Linked DNA regions of Homo sapiens: region 2 is linked to region 1. The links are contacts of gene promoters, found by promoter capture Hi-C in blood cells and fetal thymus (Javierre and others, 2016). All regions are on one chromosome and are shown on one strand. Each heading gives the region's core, a stretch centred on a gene start or on the middle of the fragment in contact. The rest is flanking DNA. Distances are from core to core; before and after follow the strand shown.

Region 1 (5,947 bases), core at 2,599-5,098:
AAGGCACAGCCAGCAGGTTCTCTCTATCTCTCCCTGTCTGTCTGTCTGTCTGTCTGTCTCTCTCTCATTCCCTCCTCTCCCAGCTGTTTGAGCTCCCTGCAATCTCTAGACTTCCTCTTCAGCCTCCCGTTGGCACCGCTAACCTCTCCTGGATCTGTAAGTAACATATTTCTTCTATTTCATGCATTTTACATTCACCTCCTCATTGCGTCTCACCTGAACCACACACCCAAACCTAACTTTTCCCAATCAGGGCTCTCCTAGAGTGGCTGTCTTGGCTTATGGCCACTCTTGACAGACCTCAAGACCAAATTAGAAAGAACCCATAACCATAAGAATCACAACACCCTGTCCTCCCTCATCTCTCCAGTGCACACATTCCAACCAGACTCAACACTCCCTATTGAATTTGCCCAACTTTTGCCACCTCTGTGCCCCTATGCAAGTGACTCCCCTGCCTAGGATGCTCTCCCTCCTTCCCTATCAAGCACGCACTACAATCAGATCCATCAGATGGGCCATCAGTGATCATCTCAAGTGACACCTCGTCCATAAAGACTTTCCTAGTCCTTCCAACTAGAAATAATCCCATCCGTCTCCTAAATCCCATCACATTAGATTTCGTTTGTCTCTTCTTTGCTTCTACCTTGCAGCGTCAACTCCAGAGTGTCTCTGGGACCCTCTGAGCTGCAGTCTGACTGGAAGAAAAGGCCAGAGACTGGCCTTAGGTAGCATTTGCACAAGTGCTGTGTTTTATTAGAATTCTACGCGGAGGGTTGCTGATGAGGACAGATAATGGAGCTGCTATGCAATGCCCCCTCAACCCTAGCCACCGAGGCCTATTTACTCCTTCTTTCTCCCACTAGACTGCAAGCGTCTAAGGACAGGGGCTGTGTGCCTCAGGTCAGCACCCTCGGCAGCGTCGAGCCCAGTGCGTGACATGGAGGAAGTGCTTGCCACAAATGCCTCTGGGAGGCATCCCTGCTGGAAGGAAACACAGCTTCTTCTGGTCTGTGCAGAACAAGTAAGTCCTAGCACCTACTCCCGGTTCTTGGCTCACTAAAGCCAAGGGTGGGAGTCAGTCAGTCCTTCCTCAGTAGGTTCCGAGGACAGTTGCTGACTTGCTCTTTCTTTAAGGTGCCTTTTACTTTTGAACCTGAATTTTTCTAGAAAAATGTAATAGGCAGGGCACCCAATCCAAAGGGATGGCCCCCAGTGGCAACCCTGAGTAAAGTAAGGCCAATTCACTGTCACATTGCTTGGTCAATTTCACTATGAATCCACGCTCCGAGGACGCACTCTTGCCCAGTAGGCACCACCCCTCACTGGCAACAGAGAGACAGCAAATTGCTCCGCACCCCAGTAGCACAGGCTTTCCCTGCGCCGGGTGTGGTGCATCCCAGGAGAGCTTTCTCACACCAGGTGGCATCCAGGTGGATCTGGCGACCGCCCAGCAAGCATGTATCCCCTCTCACAAAAGGGAAGAAAAGGAAGAGTGGCCAAGAAGGGGTGGAAACCCCAGTTTTCCTCTATAAATGTGACGCCGGATTTTAACCTCTCCCTCGGCAAATCTACATATCAGACAAAAAAGAAACTAATATAGATATTAGTCTTGTACTGACTTAGACTTTCACTTACCCCGCCCCTTGTTTCTTAATGGCCTTTTTTCTTTTTTTTAAACTCTTGTACCTAGGTTAGCCTGTTTCCTGTTCATATTAAGGAATCCAGGCCCTTTGCAGTAAAGAAAGCCAAGGATACCCTGGAGCTTTATATTAGGAATGTTTCTAGATTGTTGGTTGAAAGCATGTCCATTTCTTAATTTGCACCCTAAACACACTTCACGGCTTCATTTAAATCTGAGCACTCTGTGTATTCCAACTGCCTATGCAGGGTTCTAACTTAACCAAGTACTTAACGAGTAGCATTAATATTCGTTGTCTTCTCCACGGGTGCCTGCACTCATCAAGGTAAATAGTTACCGGCTACCTCCACGGCCCTTGATTGAGCTGAGAATTGTCTGTCCTTATCTAGACAGTGGATTGTTTGTCCCCCACCATGGGAAAACCCTGCTGGTTACTTTCCAAAGGCCTCATTTTAAAAAGACACGTTTCCACTTACAGACCTTTTAAAAATGCCAGGCAATTTGGAAGAACAGTAAGAAATCTACTATCTGCGTGACAGTCATTCAGAGATTCTTGTAGTGTGCCAGGCACCATATTAAGTGCTAGGAATGCAATGATGACTCCAAGGAGTCCTGGTTCCTGCCCTCATGATGCTTATGGTACGGTGGGAGAGGCCAACATGTAGGGAAAGGTCACTCTAATGAGCGCCTAATTACCGAGTGAGCTCAGTGTTAGGAAGGAAAGGCACGGATGTGAGGACTCCCTAGAGGGTGGGGAAGATGTTGGAGCTGAGCTATGAAAGATGAAGAAATTGGTTATTCACTGAATGTCAGGGCACAGAATGTCAGGGCAGGAAGACCACACACACACACACACACACACACACACACACACACACACACACCCTACTATTCATAGATGAGGAAACTGAGGCCCAGCAGAGCTAGATGACTTGCCGAAGGTCAGAGCTAATTCTAGAAACCCATCCCCAATCCCTTCCTGCTAAACCACTTAATTTTATTTATATCCCAGCTATAGATTATACAAATACACTTGACAAATAAAACGGAGAATATTGAGTTAAAACCACATCTCTGAAGACCACACGCATAAATAACGATCGTGTTTTAATGCGGACGATACCTTTTCATTTTGCAAATCCAGAGTTCTCATCATATCAAAATTCAAGACAGTTTGTTCTGTAAGAAGGGGAAGGTCATAACCCTGTCTAGAATGTACTGGCAAATCTCTCTAACCGTGCAGTGCTAATTTGGGCCTGAGCTGTGTAACCAGACCGACTTCACGCTCCAGCTGGGGTTTCAGATCCACACATGGCGATTGGGTGGCTCTTTGCTGTTTCACAGCAAGGGTCCTTCCCTGGGCTCCCGGAGCCTCTGGGGATTTACTGCTCCCGACGTGGCCGTGTTCAAGCCACTGTGTGCATGCGCTTAATGTTGAAAACATTCTTTTGAAAAGCCCAGGAGATTCCACTCGCAATCTGTGCGTGTGCATGTAAAAGCGCAGAGACTGGAAAGAACCGCGGCAGAGCACACCCTGACCGAAGGTTACCGCGGGGGAGCCGCGGCCGTGGGAGAGCCGCGGCCGTGGGAGGGAGTGCGATACGGTCTTTTCACTCTAGACACTCCTGAGTTATGTACAATTCTACGCAAGAATGTATGCGTGTGTTAGCATGTAATACATATGTATTAGTTTTTTCAGGAAGATTCTTAAACAACAACAAAATCTCTATAGAACAAAGGTGCGTCTCCGCAGAGCGCAACAGCATTTGTCTTGGATGTAACCGCCTTCTCCAGAAATCTCAGAGGAACTCCCCTCGACCACCGCCTAACTGAAGGACACCGTGCGCTCCACCGCAACCCTGCGGGCGATTCGGAAAGTTGGAGGCGCCCCGGGGAGTCGCCGCACTTGCCGCCCGCGCCCCCTAACCTGAGCATTCAAGGAGTCTTGACTTGGCCGCTGGCGCACTCCGCACCCACCCAGCCGGTGCTGATGCGGGAGGGTGGGGCCGCGGCGGGGCGGGGCAACGCGAGCCCGCACCCCGCTCCTCCCCGCCCCTCCCTGCCGGCCCCGCCCGCGCGCGCCCCCCGCCCGCGGCCCGGGCGCCCGGCCCGCCCCCTCCCCTCGGCGCGCAAACGAACCTCGCGACGCCGCGCTCGGCGGCGGGCGGGGGCCGGGCGAGGGAGGGGGCTGGTCCCGGCCGCCCCACTCTGCAGTTGTCTCCCGAGCGCTGGCTGCGCCGCCCGAGCCGCTGGGCCGGGGAAGCACTGGCCGTTCGCTCCCGGGCCGGCTCCGCCAGGCGCTCGCAGGCATGCAGCCCGGGAGCAGGAGGCGCTCCCCGGGCCGCTGCTGAGCCGGCCGGGGCGGCGGGGACCAGCGCCAGCGGAGCCCCTCCCACCTTGCCCCGGGGCAGACGAGCGGCGCCCCGACACCCCCTCTTCTCCCGCAGCCCCGCCAGCGCCACCCCCCGCGGGCCGCAGGGGCTCATGCAGCCGCCAAGGTAAGCGCGGGTCGGGAGCCGGGCAGACCCGGCTCTGACATCTCCGAGGCGCCGCCGACACATGCCGGGGCCACGGCGCTGCTTTGGTCTTCCTTAGCCCCGCGTCTCATCTTGCTCCCATCTTGCCCACATTTGGAGCTTTGCTGCGCCTCTATCGCTTTAGCTGTTGGCAGCAGGAAAGTTTTTGTGGTTTGGTGTTTGTTCTTTTTTCCTAAAATACTCTCCCCCGGGCAGCCGCCAGCGCGCGTGGTTGGGCAGACCCGGCACACGTCCCTTACACCGTGTGCGGGCTGGGAGCTCCTTCCCTCAGCCCGGCTCGCGGAGCCCCGGACGGAGCCGGCCACCCGACTGTCCCGCCGTGAACCCCCATTGGCCCGCGCCGCCCGGGCCCCCGCCTCCCGCTCGACGCCCGGCTGCGGAGCTGCCTGGCCATCTCCTGCCCTCGGGGATGTCGGCGCAGTGCACCGCGTGGGCTCGCGTCCCGGCGGCCCTTTGCCTCGGCGCGCCGGCGTACGGGAAGGTGCGGACCTTGGATTGAGGGCCGAGGATGCCCATTGCCAAGCCGCCCCGGCTTTCCTAAGTGGACGGGAGGGCACGGCGACGATTCAGCGCCGGCTCGCGCCGCAGCTCAACCCAGGGTACAAGCCCGGGCATGGGGGACAGGTGTATTCAATGGGAGGGCGGGTGTGGGGGACGCTCGGGTGCAATTCGGGATTGCGTCTTATTAATGTAATTGTATTAGACTTGCTCGGAGGTAGAATCAGTTCTCCCAAATTGAGATTTCTAATGGGAGCCTGTGAGCTGCTATTATGTGGTGTGGTTTTGGGAGGTGTTGGGTTGTATTTATTTTATAAATTGGGTGTCTCGCGGGCGGAGTAGGGGAAGTAGCGCCATCTAGCGGAAGTGGTGAGCTGTGCATTCCTCTTAGGCTGCGAAGTTGTTGGGTGTTCTCAAAGTAGTCTCCCGCACAAGGTGGAGAGGCGGGAACCAGCCCTCGCCTCCAGGAAGGAGGCTACAGAAGCTCTCTGAGTATCGACGGTACCAGGGAGAACCCCGACCTCCCATGCTCAGCACATTGAGCTCAGGGGACGAAATTGCGGGTCGTGTTGAGTGGCATGCTGTCACCTAAAGGAGCTCCATCACCTTCTCTGTTTGGTTTTAGACTCTTCCAGCAAAAACGTAATATAAAATGTTAACTGCTGTAAGAAGATGCCCCTTCCGCAGGTATCTGGTGCAGAGATCTTGAAAACCAATGCACAAACCTCTGTCTTCTCCTGTGCATCACAAACGGGTGATTTCTTGGGTGGATTTTGAGCCATGACCCCTAGAAAAGAGAGTAACTGTGCTCCGAAGGGCAACAGGAGGAGAACTGGGAGAGGGCCTCCTGCCCATTTGTGCAGGAACAGAATAGTGTACCCAAACTGGGTTTTGTGGTTTTTTTTTTTTTTTTTTTTGCACATACAAAGAAGGGGTTTCTTGCTGTTACCACAGCAAGTGACAAGCAAGCCCCCTTTACAGGGACATGATCTCCAATTAACAACTGGGGCAGACGTGGCTGGATGGCAAGTTCTGCAGACAAAGGCTCTGGGTGGGGCACCCACACATCCAGGCGGGCTCCACGTTCTCTGTGGCTGGTTTTTGCTGCCACCTTCCAGGCCAGATAATATATTAGCAGTGAGCTGGGCTCACCCGGTTCTGAAGGGCACCCTGGCCCCTTGTAGAGCAGTGTAGTGGTCTACTGTAGTACCCCCTTGAGACTCTCTGGGCTGTGCTGGTAGTGAAAGAGGTCTTAGCCTCCTTTTTTCAA
Region 2 (6,594 bases), core at 933-3,432, 980 kb before region 1:
GTTATAAAATAAATATAAAATTGTCTACCTCATGGGGTGTGGTGGGGAGTGAGTGCAAATGCTAATGTTTAGAAAATTCCCAGAACATTTCCTAGCACATAGGAAATGCTTCATAAAAGTTAGTTATTATCCTCAGCTCCACTCCCAGAGGCCGGTTCAAAGAATCCACACTGCTAACAAGCCCAGATCACGTTAACTCATAGAACCCCTGATGTTCCAGGTACCTACAGTGAGTGTCTCAGAGAATGGGGCTCAATACAAGGGGGTAGGCTGAAGAGTCTTCATCTTCATCTCAAGGGCTGACTATGGGGGTCCCAGAAAAACTCTGCATACCCTAGAGTCACATTATAAGAAGTTTTTTCTTTTAAATTCAGGAAACTGCCCATAACGCGTTTCAGAAAAATGACCCGCAACCATGTCTGTCTCCGCTCTCGTGTTCCCACTGAGGTTGCAGATGCACAGTGCCTCTGTCCACCCCTCTGCATGTCGTTCTTTGGGCTGAGTCTGTTAGCTGTGGTCTCAGAATCCTTCTTAACATGGCATGCACGCTGAAACCTTATTTGCTCTCTCTTCAAGAAAAGATCCCTAAGCTGAGCTTAAACTTCATTCCATCACATACCCTGCTCCGAGCCTGTCATCTCAGAGCAGTGACTCTTGACTTCTTGTTGGCTTCACATTTATCATATTTGTAGCGATTTTATCACAGTTACTATTAACTTTGCATCAGCACAAAGGGCTCCACAGGCCCAGATGAACCAGAAGTATTTTGCCCCTTTATTTTCTTCAAACCTTTTGCTAAGAATAGCAACAAAACCAGAAAGCCCTGGAGCCTTCATCCTCATTTATTTCCATGCCTGGATATAATTTAAGGAGATGCACTAAAAATGTCAAAAGTGAACAAATTGAAAAGAGTGTTTCAATCCTCCAGGCATGAGACAAACTCTCCAGGAAACTAATCTTTAAAATATTTGGAACTGACCAAAGGTTAATTTTAAACCCTTAAGTGAAAAGTGATGGTTTTTGTCCTCATCTGCTGGGTACAATACTGCACACTGAGGTACAGTGGGAAGACAGTCCCTCTTTTCTGTTCCCACCACCCAAGGCACGGTCCCCCACAGCAGAGGCATCTCCGCTTCCTGTTTCCGCCATTTCAAGGGATGGCGCTCCCATCTCTTTAAGCTGCCGCTCTTCCAACTTGGCAGGGCTGATTAGGAAGACCCAGTTCCTGACCACCGATGCTTTGCTACGCTAGGCTGGAAAATGCCTCCCTCTGCCCTTGAGAAGGGGGTCTGAATGTTTTGCGGGACTGACACCGCAGCAACATGCCGGTGTGTTTCACGCTGCTGCCTCCTGTTTCCCTTGAAGCTTTCACCAGACCCTGGATTTCTTTTTCACTTCCTGTTCTGAGCCATCGCCGGGCACTCATTACCCACCAGCTGTGTCCCAGCTGCCGCATTCTACACTAGAGGTGGCGCCCTGCACCCGGCGGGTGAGTCATTCCCCTTCTGCCTGCTAGCACAGTGCATTAAACCTTCCGGGGTCTTTGTTTGGAAAGCAGCTCTATAAATGTCAAGTATTACTAACTGTGCAGGAGAGAGGTGGGAAAACCAAAGGGCTTGGGAAGACTGAAGAATTGAGTAAAACCTTGTTCGTTTGTTTACTTTTTTTTTTCTCCTGTTCTTTCCTTTCTTATCTGCCACTCTACTTTGGATTTCCAGGCTAGCCAAAGGATTGAAATGACCATCCCCATAAATATGTAAATTGACACAAATCTGCAAATACTAATCACTTTAAAATAAAACCGAGATCAGTAGTATTGCTCACATTCGTAGTAACTTTGGCACATAAAATAGAAATGTAGGTAAATCAGGCTTATTATCTTATCCATGAAAAGCTTTCAGTCTAATACAATGAAAGACAATATGCACAATAAGTGTGTGTCGAGATCAGGAAATAGTTCCGTTTCCTTGGAGACAGCAAAGTGTGCCAGGGCGTGGGTATCCCGTCTTGGTAGCTACTGCGGCTGTTTTTACAACCTTTTAACTCTGCTTGTTTTTTGTCTCACTCTTTTTGATATATCCTCTCATTAGAAGGCCGAGAGATCTTCCTTAGATGCCAGTCTTATCAGTCTTTTTCTTATTGCTTTTGTTAAAACCCTTAGAGACGACTGTGGAAAGAGCAAAGGCAACCCACTCAAGTGTAAGAGAAAATCTTCCTAAATTCATCCTTTCAATAGCTAAAAAATTACCCTACACACACTTTTTTTAAAAAGCTGTGATAACTTATCTACTATTGTTTTGAATGGCATGGTACAATGAAGATGTATATCCCAAGGTAGAAATTTTTCAAGAAACTATTTATATAATGACCCACTCTTAAATAAGATTTTTGACTTTGGGAAGAGATTTTGTTAGTGTACACATCTCCAAAGATCTATTGTCATTGATTAATATCCAGGATATCAAGCTTAGAAAATGTTATTTTCCTGATGTTTTGACTTTCTGAGGATGTAAATACTCAACACACCAAACCCAAGGCAGTATTAGCAAGTGGAAGCTTACAAAGTGAAAGACATCAAATGAGCACTTGATTATTTAGGTTATTTAGCTGAGTCTTACAACCCATTGGGGCTTTTTTCTCTCATTGAGTTAGGCAAAACTCTTTGGGGGTTCTTGCTGGATTCAAAGCCTACTGAATTATGAGCAGGCCCAGGCTTCTCTCAAAGGGAAAACTGTCCGGTAAACTAAGAGTTATTTCCCTTATACTAATTTCAAAAGTATTTTCAAAACTGATTCCAATAAATGCCATACTCTGAGGTACGATTCATAGTTGAATAAGAACTTATATTACATAGGCTTATCATATTAGTTTCCTACTGCTGATGTAACAAATTACACAAATGTAGTGGCTTAACACAGCACTAATTTACTATCTAACAGTTACAGAGGTCAGTTTCAAAATAGGTCTCACTGGGCTAAAATTAAAGTGTCAGCAGAGCTGTGTCCCTTTTGGAGGCTCTTGGGGATAATCTGTTTCCTTGACTTTCCCAGTTTTAAGAAGCTGTCTGTATTCCTTGGCTTGTGGCCCCTTCCTCCATCCTCAAAATTAGCAATTTTGGGTGCAGTCATTTTTCCATGCTGCCATCTCTCTGGGCCTTTTTTCTGATTTCCTCTTTCACTTTAGGTATCCTTGTGATTACACTGGGTCTACTGGGATAATTCAGGATAATCTTTCTATGTTAAGGTCAGCAAAATAGCACTCTTAATTCCACCTGCAACCTTAAATCCTCTTTGTCATAGAAGGGAACATATTCAATATACACCGAAAAGGATTTTTCTTAAAAAAGAAAGAGGCTTTATTTCATCAAGCAGTTTGCTTATGAGGAGATGCAGCCTTCCACATAAAACCAAAGTGTGTTCTGAGAGAATAAAAAGAGGGGTTGAATTTTACAGAGAAAGTTCCCACCCAGGTTTCCACTCTGGTCCACCATGCAAATGAGGGATGCAAGCTTGTTTAGTTCAGATTGGTTGAAGCTTGTTTTGTTCTGATTGGTCGAAGCAGGTCACAGTCTATTATTTAGGTCCAAGTGATGAGATGGGGCTTTCTGGCTGCCATTGATTGAGGTGGCATAAACAGGAACAGACAGGTATAAAAGTCCCAAAGTTACAAGAGCATGTGGTTTCTTCAGGAGCCAGAGTATGTGGGTGACCTCTAGTCAGCAATTGGCTGCTTGGCTCCATTTTAAATTCAGGCCCAGCTAGCCACTCAGGATCCATCTTGAGGGGTTGGCTCTTTCAGCTTCGCACACTGGGCCTACTGGTATGACCCAAGATAATTTTCTTATATGAAGGTCAACTACAGCAGTCTTAATTCTACCTGCAGTCCTTTGTCATGTAAGGGAACACATTCCTAGGTTCCAGGCATTGAGATGTAGACTGCTTTGGGGCCAATATTCTGCCTCTTATATGTAGTAATAGACATTCGAGGTTTTAAGTCAACCAGTTGGTGGGGGAAAGTGAATATTTAAGTGAAATTCAACAAAAAATGAAAATGAAGACTTGAGTGCTGTATGAAGTCTCAGATCCTATTCTGGGAGCTATGCTGTTGGATGTTTATGAGCAAGCACCTACTCAGTATCAGACACTATCAAATCTGCAAGTATTAAAAAACAAATAAGAAAATCCCCATCTGCCCTCTGGTAGCTTACCACTGGGAGAGAAAGACAAGCACATTCACAGCATAAGAAGCAGACACTGACTGCTATGGTGCAGAGAAAAAACTGCTTCATCCTGGAGATGACATTTGGAAAGACTAAAACAATCAAGACCGCCCCCCGCCCCCGCCCCCCGCCCCCACAGGCTTGCCGCCACAAAGATATGATAGTCTTAAACAACTAAAATGAATTTTCCTCATATTGACACATTTAAACACTGACAAGACCCTCTGACCACATTCCTATGGCTTCTCCTAGAGCCTAGGAAGGGGCCAGTGTGAGAACACTGAAGTGTAAGGTTCACTTGTTTCTTCTTTGACAGTTAGACTTTGTTCTGCTGATTAGATCAACTCCCACAAACGTCTTCATCCCTTGAACAGAGTGTCTCACATAAAGCAAGCTATATTTTTGTTTCTCTCATAAGCCTGAGATGCAGGGACTTTCAGGGTTAACACAAATCATGGGTTTCCCTAAATATGTTTATACCGTTAAGGTCAATTTCAAAAGACTACCATAGGCAGCCTGACAAGAGAAAAGAAGTTAGAAGATGACAGCCTGGAGCTTGAGGTTGGGAGAATGGAAGTCTAAAAGCAATCCTCATCTTGCAGTCCACTTTGTGACTCTATACCTCAGATCTTGTTTTGGATATCATGTCATAGGCTGTTAATTTCCCCCCAGAATCCATTGTCCTGACCTTTTTATAATAGAAGCTTCGTCCTATAAACAACATGTGACTTTTATCAGAGCACTTGACTTTCAGGCTGAACTAACATTTCACAGCCTCCCTTGCAGCTAGAAGTATGATTGAGTTCTTGCCAATGGAACGTGAGCAGAAGTGACGTGTCTAATTTTAATGTAATTTCCTTTAAAGATACTACTTGTTGTCCACTTTTTCTCCTTTTCATTTCCTTTTGGTGAAGAAATGAAGAGAATCAGACTACCCACCTTGGATTCTGATATGAAAGATTTAGGATAAAAGAGCTACTCCATCAGCCTGGAAAGATGACTCACTGGCAAACTCTTAGATAAAGGTGAGAGAGAAAAATAAACTATTTTATTTAGTCCACTGAATTTTGAAGGCTGTTTGTTACAGCTACTTAGACTGACACTTAACATGGTAAAATAAGTAGTTAAAGGATCATCTTCATTCAGGGAAATGTTATTCCTCCAACAATGAATACATTATTGCCCAGACACTTTCTGAAAAATGACCCACAACCCAGGTTGAAATCATCCAGAAAGTTCTCTTGTGTCTCTGTGCTCTGGCCTGGCCTTTGTAGTCCCTAACTACAGAAAGTAGCTGCCCTTTGAGCAGCATCCTTTGAATGTGAAGAAAATATGAGCATGATTATTTCATTTCTGTTGTGTCCTCTTTGCAAATATGTAAGACTGAGTGCTTTGCCTGTGAAATTCTCATAGTGGGGACCTCTGCGCTTTTCTCCTGCTCACCTGCTTTTTCATTCAAACCTGTAGTGGGAGGAAACCTGTCAGCGTGTGTGGGTGACAAGAGTGAGTGAGAACTGGATGTATGGTCTGAGGTTACAGGAAAAGGTTGTTTATGTAGCCCCATTGGTACTCAGGAGATTGCAAAATGAAGCATTAAATTCAAATTTTCTGACTCACTATCCCCTTGAGAGAAGGACTTCAGAAAACACAGGTGTGCGGTCTACTGAGATGGAGGTTTCCTTTACAGTGGATTTCTGTGGAAATAAACTTTGACATTCTATCCCAGGGGTTACCTCTCAGAGAGACCCCTCGGGTGATGTGTATTTTGGAAACCTCAACAGGAATTTGTATTTAGGCGAGATTCACCTTTGGTAATGTCACTCACTCCTGATTTTCCTCCTCCCTCCCTGGACGGTGCTTCCTGCCCCCCACCCCCCCACCTTTTTTTTTTCCTCTGGCTCCTTCTTTTTTTCTGACTCCTAAGTGGTGACTGCTCCTGGATTAGCCCTGGGCTACGTTCTCTTAACTATAAACTTGTCCCATGGGTGTAAATATCATCTAGGTTCCAGTGACTTCCAAATTTTCACCCCTGATGTCCTCCTGGAACCCTGCACTTAGACATGGCAAGTGCTTATGTGGCTTTATGCTTGTCTGAGATCTAGAACTTACCATGAAAAAACACAAAGGAAAACGGCACAAAGACTTCTGCCCCTTCCCCAACCTGCTCCACATCCCATGTGTTAATGAAGGAAATTCCAGGTAAGGTAAAGATGTAAAAACCCCCCAAATATATGATGGCTGTAACACAATCACACACAATAAAAGTGTATTTCTCACTCATTTCAAATTGAAAATGGGTATCCCTGATCAGCTGGGGCTCTTCTCCCTGTGGCGTTTCAGGGACCTGAGTTCTATAGCTGTTGTTCTACCATCTT

The links. Contacts are between HindIII fragments. The CHiCAGO score rates a contact against its expected background, and 5 or more counts as called.
Region 2: a contact is called between a fragment that was not itself captured here and the fragment with the promoter of RGMA in region 1, in 1 of 17 cell types (megakaryocytes). The highest score is 5.8, in megakaryocytes.

Annotation. Positions count from the first base shown.
Region 1 is chr15:93,087,112-93,093,058 of GRCh38, reverse strand. It overlaps RGMA (repulsive guidance molecule BMP co-receptor a), which reads left to right and starts at 3,848. Exons shown (of 4, transcript NM_020211.3): 1 at 3,848-4,140. The coding sequence starts at 4,127. LOC101927025 (a long non-coding RNA gene) reads right to left here and starts at 3,845. Exons shown (of 5, transcript XR_007064769.1): 1 at 3,782-3,845. The HindIII fragment of the contact is 10,450 bases long and covers 1-5,947 here.
Region 2 is chr15:94,065,419-94,072,012 of GRCh38, reverse strand. The region is part of intron 2 of LINC01581 (long intergenic non-protein coding RNA 1581); the gene reads left to right. LOC105369203 (a long non-coding RNA gene) reads left to right here. Exons shown (of 4, transcript XR_002957694.2): 2 at 1,366-1,489; 3 at 5,085-5,244. Among named protein-coding and RNA genes, the nearest start is that of LINC01581, 39 kb to the left of the region's middle. The HindIII fragment of the contact is 572 bases long and covers 1,897-2,468 here.